2 separate regions of the Homo sapiens genome follow, and region 2 is linked to region 1. Evidence: promoter capture Hi-C in 16 types of primary human blood cells and fetal thymus (Javierre and others, 2016). All regions are on one chromosome and are shown on one strand. The core of a region is centred on a gene start or on the middle of the fragment in contact, and the rest is flanking DNA. Distances in the headings are between cores, read along the strand shown.

Region 1 (6,030 bases), core at 445-2,944:
TGGGTAATGGGACCATTCATACCCCAAACCTCAACATCACACAATATACCCAGGTTACAAACTTGCACAAGTGCCCTCTGAATCTAAAATAAAAGTTGAAAAAGCAAAAATAAAACAGTAAACAACAACAACAACAAAACAGCAAAACCCTCAATAAATACATAAATAAAAATATAAATAAATGTCTTTGCCAGAGCTTTTTGTTTTTTGTGTGGCTTTGAGTTAGTATCTGGGGTCACGTTGCTTTTAAGCTGTTTGCTATCAACTGCATCCTATCTAATATTTCTTTTTCTTAATAGTAAACCACTCAATTTTTGTGAGGAGATATTACATTGTGGTTTTGATTTACATTTCTCTAATGATTTCCTTTCCAGTTTGGATGCTGAGCATTTTTTCTTATGTTTTTTGCCCATTCATATATAATTTTAAAAGAAATGTCTATTCAAATCCTTTTGCCATTTTAAAATCATATTATTTTTAAATATTGTGTTGTAGAAATTATTTATATATTCTGGATATTAACTCTTTATCAGATATATAATTTACTAATATTTTCTTCCATCCACAAGTTTTTTTTAACATTGTTATGTCCTTTAATGCATAAAAGTTTTAAAAAGTTTGATGTAGTCCCAATTGTCTATTTTTTCTTTTGTTGTCTGTACTTTTGGTGTCATATTAAAAAATAATTGCCATATCCCCTTATTCTAAGAGTTTTATAGTTTTAGATCTTCCATTTAAGTTTTAAATCCATTTTGAGTTAATTCTTGTATATGGCATAAGACAAAGTTTCAACTTCACTCTTTCATGTGTGGATATCCAAGTTTCCCAACACTGTTTGTTGAAGAGAATGTTCTTCCCTCATTGAGCGGATCTGGAATGCTGTAAATATTATTTGACCATATATGTGGAGTTTTCTTTTAATGGGTTCTTTATTCTATTCCATTGGTCTATATGTCTCTCTTTAAGCCAGTGTCATGCTGTTTTAATTACTGTAGTCTTGTAACATGTTTTGAGATCACGGAGCATGAGACCTTCAACTCAGTTAGTTTTCAAGATTGTCTAGTCAGAGTATATATGAATATTTAGATAAATTTTTCTCTTTTTTCAAAAAATGCAGCTTAGATTTTGATAGGGATTACATATAATTTGTAGACTGCTTTGGGTTCTATTGACTTTTCAAATTAATACATAATGTTGTACAGATTTGGGGAATACATCTGATATTTTGGAGATCTTAACATTAAATCTTCCAATCCATGAATACCAATGTCTTTACATTTATTTGTGACTTCTTTCAGTACTGTTTTGTAGTTTTCAGTGTACAAGCCTTTTATTTCCCTGGCTAAGTTTATTCCTAAGTATTTTACTATTTTTGATGGTATTGTAATTAAATTATTTTCTTAATTACCTTTGGATTGTTTATAGTTAATTTATAGAAAGGCAACTGATTTTTGTGTGTCGATTTTGGATCCTGCAACTTTCCAGAATTTGTTTAATAGTTCCAACAGTTTTCTGGATTTTATGCATATATGCATCTAACAGTTTTCTAGATTTTATGCAGGAGTCTAGGATTTTATGCATATAGGATCAAGTCATCTGTGAGCAGAGATAATTTTACTTTTTTCTTTTATTCTTTGGATGTCTTTTCTTGCTTAATTTTTTTTTCCTAATTGGTCTGCTTGGAAATTCAAATACTATATTGAATAGAAGCGAAGAGACAGAGTATACTTGTCTTGTTCCTAATCCAGAAGAAAAGTTTGAATCTTTTACCATTGAGTGTAAGTTTACCTGTGGATTTTTCATATATGGCCTTTATTATGTTATTTTCCTTCTATTCCTAGTTTGCTGAGTGTTTTCGTGATAAAAGGTGTTAAATTTTGTTAAACATTTTTTCTACATCAATATAAATGATCATGCTGTTTTGTCCTTTATTCTATTACTATAGTGTATTACATTGATTTTTGCATGTTGTATTATTCTTTTTTTTTGAGATGAAATCTCATTCTGTCATTCTGGCTGGAGTGCAGTGGCATGACCTCAGCTCACTGCAACATTTGCCTCCTGGGTTCAAGGGATTCTCCTGTCTCAGCCTCCCAAAGTGCTGGGATTACAGGCATGAGCCAGCACACCCTGCCACATGTTCTATCATTCTTGCATTCCAGGAATAAAGCCAACCTGATCATCACAAATATTGGTCTGTAGTTTTCTTTTCATGTAATGTCTTTGTTTGACTTTGAAATCAGGGTAATACTGGCCTCATATAATGAGCTTTGAAGTGTTTTTTATATTCATTTTTGTAAATGACTTTGAGAAACATTGGTTCTAATTCTTCCTTAAATGTTTGGTAGTCATCCGGTTCTGGGCTGTTGTTTGTTTGGAGGTTTTTGAACCAGTTTAATCTCCTTCGTAGTTATAAGTCTGTTCGTTTTTTCTACTTCTTCATGATTCACTCTTATTAGGTTGTATATTTCTAGAAATTTATGCACTTCTAAATTATCCAATTTGTTGACATATAATTAACTGTTGATGGTATTTTCTTATAATCCTTTTGATTTCTATGGCATGGGTTCTAATGTTCTCTTTTTTATTTCTGATTTATTAGTTGAATCTTTTTTCCTTAGTTAATCTAGCTAAGCATTTGTTAATTTTGTTGGTGTTTTCAAAAACCACCTCTTAGTTTTGTTGATTTTTTTCTATTGTTTTTATATTCTATATTTCATTTATCTCTGATTTAATCTAATCTTTAGGATTTTCCTCCTTCTGCTAGCTTTGGGTGTAGTTTTTTTTCTCTCCTAGTTTCCTGAGGTATAAAGTTAGGTTGTTGATTTGCAAACTTTCTTCTACTTCTTTTTTTTTTTTTCTTAAGTTGTGGAGATGGGGTCTTGCTTTGTTGCCCAGGCTGGTCTCAAATTCCTGGCCTCCAGAAGTTCTCCTCCCTCAGCCTGTCAAAGTGCTGGGATTGCAGGCATGACCCACCATGCCTAGCCACTTTCTTCCTTTTATAATGCACATATTTATAGCTATAAAATTCTCTGTTAGCACTGCTTCTGCTGCATCTTACACATTTTGGTACATTGTATTTTTATTTTCCTTTATCTCAAGATATTTTCTAACTTCCCTTGTGATTTCTTTTTTGACCCATTGCTTGTTGAAAACTGTGTTGTTTAATTTTCACATATTTGTGAATTTTTTGTTTTCCTTCTGCTACTGATGTCTAGTTTTATGTCATTTTCATCAAAATAGATATTTTGTATAATTTCAATCTTTTAAAATTTGTTACAAGTTTTTTTGTGGTATAACATGTGATTTATCTTTGGGAATATTCCATGTAAACTTGAGAAAAATACTATTCTGATTTTATTGGGTGGAATGTTCTGCACATGTTTGTTAGCACTATTTATAGTGTTGTTCAAGTACTGTATTTCCTTATCGATTTTCTGTCTTGTTGTTCTAGCCATTATTGTAAGTGAGGAATTGAAGTCGCCTACCATTATTATGCTGTTTATGTTTCCTCTCTGATCTGTCAATGTTTGCTTCAGATATTTAGGAGCTCTGGTATTAGAGGTATATATATTTGTAATTGTTATATCTTTCTGCTGAATTGACTTTTTGTTATATAATATCCATTTTTTTGTCTTGTGACTATTTTTGACTTTAAGTCTATTTTGTTGGATAGTAGTATAGTCACTTCTGCTTGCTTTTATTTACCATTTGCATGGCATTTACTTTTCCTTTTTTTCATTTTAAGCATATTTGTTTCTTAGACCTAAATGACAGGATAAAGTTGGATCCTTTTTACAAATCCATTTTCCAGTCTATATCTTTTGATTCAGGAGTTTAATCCATTTACATTTAAAGTAATTACTGATAGGGAAGGACCTACACTTGCCATTTTGTTGTTTCCTGTATGTTTTGTAAATTTTGTTTTTTATTCCTTCTCTTACTGACCTCTTTTGGGTTTTGTCGATTTTTTTTTGTGGTGACATTTTGATTCCCTTCCTGTTTCCTTTTGTGTGTATTCTATAGATTTTTTTATGGTTACCATAAGAATTATAAAAAACATCTTAAAGTGTTAACAAGCTATTTTAAACTGTTAAGAGAATAACTTCGACTGTGTACAAAAACTATTTCTTCAAAGCTCCTACCCTCACCTTAGGTTACTTATGTCACAAGTTACATCTTCATATGTAATGTATTCATTAACACAGTTTTATAGTTATTTTTAAGCTTTTGTCTTGTAAATTCTATACAAGAATTAAAAGTGCATTTATGTACCAAAACTGCATAGTACAGTCTCTATATATGTCCATATATTTATCTTTACTGGAGAGCTTTATATTTTCATAAGACTTCATGTTACTATTTAGCATCCTTTTGTTTCAACTTGCAAGATACTACAGCAGGTCCAGTGGTAATGAACTCCCCAGTTTTTGTTCATCCTGGAAAGGCTGATTTTTCCTTTATGTTTGAAGGATGGTTTTGCTGGATATAATATTTTTGGTTGAAATTTTCTTTTCTTTCAGCTCTTTGAATATATTATCCCCCTGCCTTCTGGCCTGCAAGGTTTCTGTTGATAAATCCACTGATAATTTTATAAAGGCTTCCTTTTACATGACAAGTTACTTTCTTTTGCTGCTTTCAAGATTGTCTCTTTGTCTTTGACTTTTGAGAGTTTGATTATAGTGTGTCTCACTGTGAGTCTCTGGGTTTTCTTTAACATTTTTTTTTTGTTCATATCTTCTGATGATGAATTCCTTTAACTTTTATATTTGTGAAATGTTTTTTCTTCATTTTCAGAAGGTATTTTTAGTGAGTGTAAAATTCTACATTGACAGTTTTTTTCTTTCAGTACTGTTTAGTGTTTCTCTACTGTCTTCTTGCTTGTACTGATTGTATAGAAACTCTGCTGTAATTCTTATCTTTGTGTCTTTGTACTTAATGTGCCTTTTTACTCTGCCTGTTTTTAAGATTTTATTTTTATTATTGATTTTGATCATGTGGCTTGGTGTGAGTTTCTTCATATTTATTGTGCTTGGGGTTCATTGAGCTTATTAAGTCTGTAGGTTTATATTTTTCATTACATTTAGAAAAATTGTAGCCATTATTCATTCAAATTTTTTTCTGTTCTTCTCCCATTTCTCATGCCCTTATGGGGTCTAATTATATGTATATTAGGCTATTTGAGGTTGTCTTACAGCTCACTTACAGTTCTTATGTTTATTTTTCCACTTCTATTTCATTTGGGCAGGTTTATTATACTTTTCCCTAATTTGCTAATTTTTTTGCAATGTCTAATCCACTGTTAATCTCATCCAATGTATTATTAATTTCAGACATTGTAGTTTTCATCTCTAGAAATTGTTCATCTTTTTATATCTTCTTTGTCTCTATTTGATATGCTAAGTCTTTTCTCTAGCTTCTTGAGCATATGAAATATAGTTATGACAACTATTTTATTTTATTACAACTTTTACCTTAGGTTCAGAGGTACATGTGCAGGTTTGTTATGTAGGTAAACTCGTGTCACAGGAGTTTGTTTATTATTTCATCACTCAGGTACTAAGCCTAGTACCCAATAGTTGTTTTTCTGTTCCTCTCCCTTCTCCTACCCTCCAACTTCAAGTAGGCCCCAGTGTTTATTGTTCCTCTCTTTGTATCACTACTATTTTAATGTCTCTACTAGTTCTCTTATTTTTGTCATTTCTGAGTTGATTTTATTTTTCTCACTATGGCCATATTCTCCTACTTCTTTGAATATCTGGTATGCAAATTATACCTAGTATGGATATTATATCAAGACCCTGTCGCAATATGGATACCTAAAAGAAAATAACAATGTTTACCAGTTTGCTCTAAGCCTTTCTTAGCTCTTTTGCTTGTTTCTCAAGAACAAGCACAGAGGGTGGAGCTCAACCAAGACTGAAGTTAAAGATGTAGAAAGATTGAGATGGGAAGTAATTAAGTTGAGGAGCTCTGATACAATGGTATTTCTCTTTTTAATCATGTAAGATGCAAGCCCAAGATAATATG
Region 2 (6,557 bases), core at 3,454-5,953, 260 kb before region 1:
AGAAAGACAAGATAATATGGAAACTTGAAGGGCTGCTGTATAGAGAATAATTAGGCTGGTTTCATGTGATTCAAAACTAATAGCTGTAGTTGAACGGGAGGTGCTCTGGATTCAGCATAATGGACACACTCCTAACAGTTAATTCCTGTCCAACATTGAAGGGGGCCACCTTAAGTGGTGGGTATTTCCTAACACTGAAAGGACAGAGGTCAAGGTAGATAGGCAAAATGATGCTTTAGAGACAGGTTGAAGTTATTTAAGTCCCAGCCAGCCAGGGATAGTACTGGATGGCTTCTCTAACCTTTTGGCCTCCCATAGGTGGACATTATGGCATGATAAGGTTGTTAAAATAATTTTAAAAAACATATTGTGGCGTGACTCATTGGTCATTACTTTAACCAAATTATAATAATGATGATTCATATACTTTTTTGAAAATCTGCTTTTTTTTTTTTTTTGGTTGAAGTGCCTAAGTACTGTTCTCAGTTTTGAAAATGTTACTCCTTTAAGTCTTGTGTAGTTCTTGATGATTCATCTGGGAAAGCAGCCCTTTTCTTCTTTTTGAGTGATCTTTGAAAGCTTGACACTTTCCCCGTAAACTAAGCTGGGAACTTTGAGTTTGAGTTTTTAGTTGCCACAACTGTGGGGGTGCTAATGGCACCTAGTAGGAAGGGCCTGTTGAGATACACAGCTAAATTAAATTTGTCATTGATTATGTGGGTGTGTTGCCAAGTTTTCTGGAGATGTTTACCAGTCTGGGCAATTTTGATAGTATTATCTTCTTACAGTTTCTGCTGTGAAGCAGTCTTTGAAGAAATATAAGATATTTATAGGAGCAAGCCCTTGGGGAAAAAAGCATTCTTACTAGTTTTATTTGATTAATTAATTAATTACAATGCCCTCATTCCCAATTCTTGAGGTAGAATTTTGATCACCTTAGCATCTGAGTGAGGAGGTAATGTGTGTGTTTACATTTCCTGAACTACCTCAGGTCTCCTCTAACCACTGGGTGTCTTGTTCCTGCTGAATTGTACTGTGCAGTAGACTCCACTGTATTAGTGGATGCATCAGTCTGTGGTAGGATTTCTTGACCTTAGCTCTGCTGACAGTTGGGGTTGGATAATTCTTTGTTGTGGGGAACTGTTCTGTGTATTGTAGGATGTTCAGTAGCATCCCTGGCCTCTTCCTACTAGGTGCCATTAGCACCACCACAATTGTGGCAACTAAAAATATCTCCAAGACACTGGCAAAATCCCCTGGGGTGATAAACTGCCCCTGTTGAGAACCACAGACTTACGAATACCGCTCAGCTGGTCCTCTGCCATGGTTAAGGTCTTCCTACTCTTGTCTGGTTTCTCCGTGTTCCCAGCCTTGCTCACAGCCTCCTCTTACCTGACTGTGCTCTGCTTAGCTAATTAGGCAGAAAGTTGCCAAGTAGAAGGTGGAATCAGTGGGGAATAGGGCAGAGCTGGAGTCAGGTGTGGCCCTGGGTAGGGGCTAAGCTCTGGCAGCACACAGATGGGTGTGTTTTTTTGTGGTAGCTAAGATTAGACTGCTAAAGCAAATGATCTTTGACATGAAAATAAACTGACAATACCACCGGTGGTCCTAGCGCACAATACTAATCAGGTATGTGGTATCTTTATATTGTCTCAAGCCTGCCTTGGAGTCTGTTGTTAACGAAAGCTCCAAGCATGTTTCCTCCTTAATGTTTTTATTTGAAAGAAGCAAAGAAAAGTGAAACTGGTTCTTGACGAACTTCATATTCAATATAGTTTCAGTTTTCAGGTGACTTAAATAGCTAGATACATTTTTTACATATATGAAATGAGGTGGGAGAGTTTGTAAATTTGAAGCAGCAAATGTTTACTGAATGCAGCCAGGTATGGTGCCATGGCCTCAAGAAATACTTGGAGTGCACAGGGAGTGAGACAGGCACCATCATGTAAGCGGTGGTAGTTCACAGATGGTGAGGGGTGAGATCTCATAAACTGGAGACTGGGACAGGTGTTCATATTCCCTACTTATTTTCATTTTCAAACAGTCACTGTTTATAATATGTCTGTTCTGAGCTTTATGAATTTTTTTTTTTACTTAAGATCATCCTAACTGCCCATTTTGTAAACTTTATTCTCTTAACATTTATTATGTCATATTTCCTGATTTTAAATAACTTCTAATGACTGCATATTGCGTTTTGTGGTTATATCCTAAGTTGTTTACGTAATGATTTCGCTATTGTTTAATGTGGATTATTTTAAGAATTTTGCTATTATAGTTATCATTTGATGAATATCTTCAGCATAAATTTTAGTCCACAGTTTAGATTATTTCTTTCAGATAGTGTCATGAAGTAGAATACTGTGGATTTTTTTTTTTTTTTTTTTTTTTTTTTTGGAGACGGAGTCTTTCAGGCTGGAGTGCAGTGGTATGATCTCGGCTCACTGCAACCTCCGCCTCCCGAGTTCAAGCAATTCTCCTGTCTCAGCCTCCCGAGTAGCTGGGATTACAATGCCCGCCACCACGTCCGGCTAACTTTTGTATTTTTAGTAGAGACAGGGTTTCACCATGTTGGCCAGGCTGGTCTCGAACTCCTGATCTCAGGTAATCCACCCACCTCTGCCTCCCAAAGTGCTGGGATTATAGGCGTGAGCCACCACGCCTGGCCTGGTGTGGATATTTTTAAGGCTCTTGATTCATATTGCTGAACTGCTTTCCTAAAAGATTCTAATTAATGCTTCCACTAGCAAGGTGTTGAGTGGCCATTTTAGGACATCCTTGCCAATGTTGATGTTTTCTAAAAAGAAAATTACCGATTTAACAGGTGGAAAACATCTCATCTTTCATTGACTTTTTGTTTTTGCTTTCCTTTAAAACTTCATTAGCTTCTTTTGTGCAGTTGGCTGTACATGTCCTTTTCCTGTTAATCTTTTGGAGGGGTTATAGTGCTTTTTAAAAGAAATTTGCTTTATATAGCTTGTTTATATATGAAAGGTAGTGACTTTTTGTCTGTCATTTTTGTAAAAAAAAAAAGCTTACCTAGTTTTCTAGTTATGTCTTTTGCTTTATGTGTAACTTACAGAAAAAATACACAAAGAATATAGAGAATTACTACATATAATTTACTAAGATTCACCAGTTGTTTGTATTTTACCTCATTAGCTTTATCACTCTTTCCCCCTTTCTTTTTATGCATATATGTGAATGTATTTTTTGTGATTCATTTGAGTTTAAGTTGTATAAGTCCTAAGAATACTTCAACATGTATTTCTAAGAGCCAGGGTATTCTCTTGCATAACCACAGTAAAATTAGCAGTCAAGAAATTTAACAATTGGTACGGTGTTGTTATCTAATTCATAGTGCAGTTTCAACAGTTGTCCCTATAATGTCCTTTATTGCCCTTTTGTTTTCCATGTCCAGTATCCAGTCCTGAATCGCCATGAAATTATCATATTTCTTTAGTCTCCTTTAATCTGGAGTACTTTGTTAACCTTTCATTGTCATTCTTGACATTGATCTTTTGGAAGAGTACAGATCAGTTATTTTTTTAGAATGTCCCTCACTTTTTACTTGTCTGAAATTTCCTCATGGTTAGATTCAGTTCATGCATTTTATGCAAGGATAACAAAAAAGTGATTTTTATTTTTCTCAGTGCAGCATATTAGGAGCAACCTGATGTCAGTTTGTTCTAATATTGCTGATAACATCAAACAGTTGGTTTAGTTGGTATCTGCCAGATTTCTCTACTGCCATGATACTGTTTTTCTCTTTGAAGTTAATATTTGTTGACAATGTGTTAATATCCTGTTCCTCATCAAACTTTCACCCACTAGTTTTAGCGTCCAGTGATGACTTTCCAACTGCATGCTTCCTTCTGTAGCTATTGATTGGCATTCTACTGTAAGGAAGACCTTTCCCTCCTCCCTCCACATCCCATTTATTTATTTGTTCAATTATTTATTTGAATGATTCATATACATATTCTTATTTAGTGGTCTGTAACTCATTACTGTTATTATCTTGATACTAAAATCATCCCAAATTTGGTCTGTGTAAACTCTTTCAAACTGGCTTCTGTGTTTTCATATGTCTCCAGAATTCTTTGAGTACCTATTTACTTTCTGGTGCAACAAGATGATCTGGGCTCATTTTGTATGGCCCACCCCTCAAATCAGCTTTTCTTCGAGGAGTATTGTTACTATTAGTGAGGAAAAAATGGTATTTGGAAATCAAGATCTGGATATATGATGTGCTTATTGTGACTGATGTGTCATTATTTCTAGGCCTACTCAGTGGCCACAGCTAGGATATGTTTGTTTGTGTGTAAATAGATATATGTATATCCATATTTTAATTTTTTATTAAACAATTTTTTTAGAGACAGGGTCTCACTCTGTCTCCTAGGCTGGAATGCAGTGGTATGATCATAGCTCACTGTAACCTCGAACTCCTGGGCTCAAGCAAATCCCCCTACCTTGGTTTCCCAAGTAGCTAGGACTACAGACATGGGCCACCATGCCCAGCTATTTTTAAAATTTTTAGTAGAGATGGGATCTTGCTGTATTCTCCAGGCTGGTCTTAACTCCTAGCCACAGGCAGTCCTCTGCTTTGGCCTCCTTAAAGTGGTAGGATTACAGATACTTATTTTAAATTTATATATCTTAGTTCGTTATGCTGCTATAACAAAATACCTGAGACTGGGTAATTTATAAACAGTGGAAATTGATTTCTTATGGTTCTAGCAGCTGGGAAGTTCAAGGCACCAGCATTCATTCTCTGGTGAGGGCCTTCTTGCTGTATCTTCGTGTGATGGAAAAGTGGAAGGGCAAAAGGGCTGACTAGCTCCTCCAGCCCTTTTTTAAATAATATTTTTAATTTTTAATTTTTGTGGGCACATAGTAGGTATATATATATTTGTGAGGTGCATGAGATATTTTGATACAGGCATGCAATGTGAAATAATCATATCGCGGCAAATAGGGTATACATCCCCTCATGCATTTATCCTTTGTGTTACAAGCAATCCAATTACACTCTTATTTTAAAATGTATAATTGTTACTATTGACTGTAGTCATCCTGTTGTTCTATCAAATAGTGAGTCTTATTCATCCTTTCAATTTTTTTTTTGTGCCCATTAACCATCCCCACCTTCCCCACAGCCCCCCATTAACTTCCCAGCCTCCAGTAACCATCCTTCTACTGTCTATGTTCATTAGTACAATTGTTTTGATTTTTAGATCCCACAAATAAGTGAGAACATGTGATGTTTCTCTTTCTGTGCCTGGCTTATTTCACCCTCTGGCTCTTTGATGAGTCCCTAATCCCATTCATGAAGTCTCTGCCCTCATGATTTAATCACCTCATAAAGTCCTCAAGTCTTAATATTAGCATTGGCAATTAAGTTTCTTTTTTTTTTTTTTTTCTTTTCTCTTTTTGTTTAGAGACAGAGTCTCACTTTATCACCCAGGCTGGAGTGCAGTGGTGCAATTGTAGCTCACTGTAGCCTTGACTTCCTGAGCTCCAGTGATCTTCCCACCTTAGCTTCGTGCGTAGCTGGGACTTTTAAGCTGGGATGCTTTAAGGTGCTTGCCACCATGCCTGGCTAGTTTTTTTTTTTTTTTTTTAATTTTTATTTGTAGTAGAGATGAAGCCTCACTGTGTTGTCCAGGCTAGTTTTGTATTCCTGAGCTCAAACAATTCTCCTGCCTTGGCCTCCCAGAGTGCTAGGATTACAGGCTTGAGCCAGGACACCAGGGCGTGATTAAGTTTCAACATGAGAATTTTGGGGACACGTTCATACCCTAGCAACATCTATGTATACACACATATATTAACAACTATTAACAATATGATTTCATATTGATTCTACCAGTGTTATTCTAACACCATGAGGGGGTGGTACTTCTTGCATCTTCCTTAGGTTGAATTTCATCAAATGCTTTTCTTGCATCTTGCCTACACTCTGTGCAAAGATATGCTGTATTTATTTCTAGAAGTTTTATAGTTTTGGCTTTAGGTTCAGATCTATGATCAATCTCAAATTATTTTTTATTCATGGTGTGAGATGGGGTTGAAGTTCATCATTGTTCTGTATTGGATATCCAACTGATCCAGCACTATTTGTTGAAAAGCAATTCCCCATTGAATTGCTTTGATGCCTCCCCTGAAAATCATTTAACTGTATATGTGTGAGTCTGTTTCTGGACTTTGTATTCTGTTCTCTTGATCTGTTTGTTTGTCTTTAGGCCAGCACAGTACTCTCCTGATTATTGTAGCTCTGTAAGAAGCCTTGAAGTCAGATAGTTTAAATTTCACTCATGTCCCTGTGAAGAGACCACGGAACAGGCTTTGTGTGAGCAATAAAGCTTTTTAATCACCTGGGTGCAGGCGGTCTGAGTCCGAAAAGAGTCAGCAAAGGGAGAAAGGGGTGGGGCCATTTTATAGGATTTGGGTAGGTAAAGGAAAATTAGTCAAAGCGGGTTGTTCTTTGGTGGGGGTCACAAGGTGTTCATTGGGGGAGCTTTCGAGCCAGGATGAGCCAGGAGAAGGAATTT

What was found. Contacts are between HindIII fragments. The CHiCAGO score rates a contact against its expected background, and 5 or more counts as called.
Region 2: a contact is called between a fragment that was not itself captured here and the fragment with the promoter of OR13A1 in region 1, in 4 of 17 cell types (M2 macrophages, monocytes, total B cells and 1 more). The highest score is 8.3, in M2 macrophages.

Annotation. Positions count from the first base shown.
Region 1 is chr10:45,311,272-45,317,301 of GRCh38, reverse strand. It overlaps OR13A1 (olfactory receptor family 13 subfamily A member 1), which reads left to right and starts at 1,694. Exons shown (of 4, transcript NM_001004297.3): 1 at 1,694-1,778. The HindIII fragment of the contact is 10,818 bases long and covers 1-4,229 here.
Region 2 is chr10:45,575,843-45,582,399 of GRCh38, reverse strand. It overlaps a transcript of MARCHF8 not described here. Among named protein-coding and RNA genes, the nearest start is that of MARCHF8, 44 kb to the right of the region's middle. The HindIII fragment of the contact is 3,334 bases long and covers 3,037-6,370 here.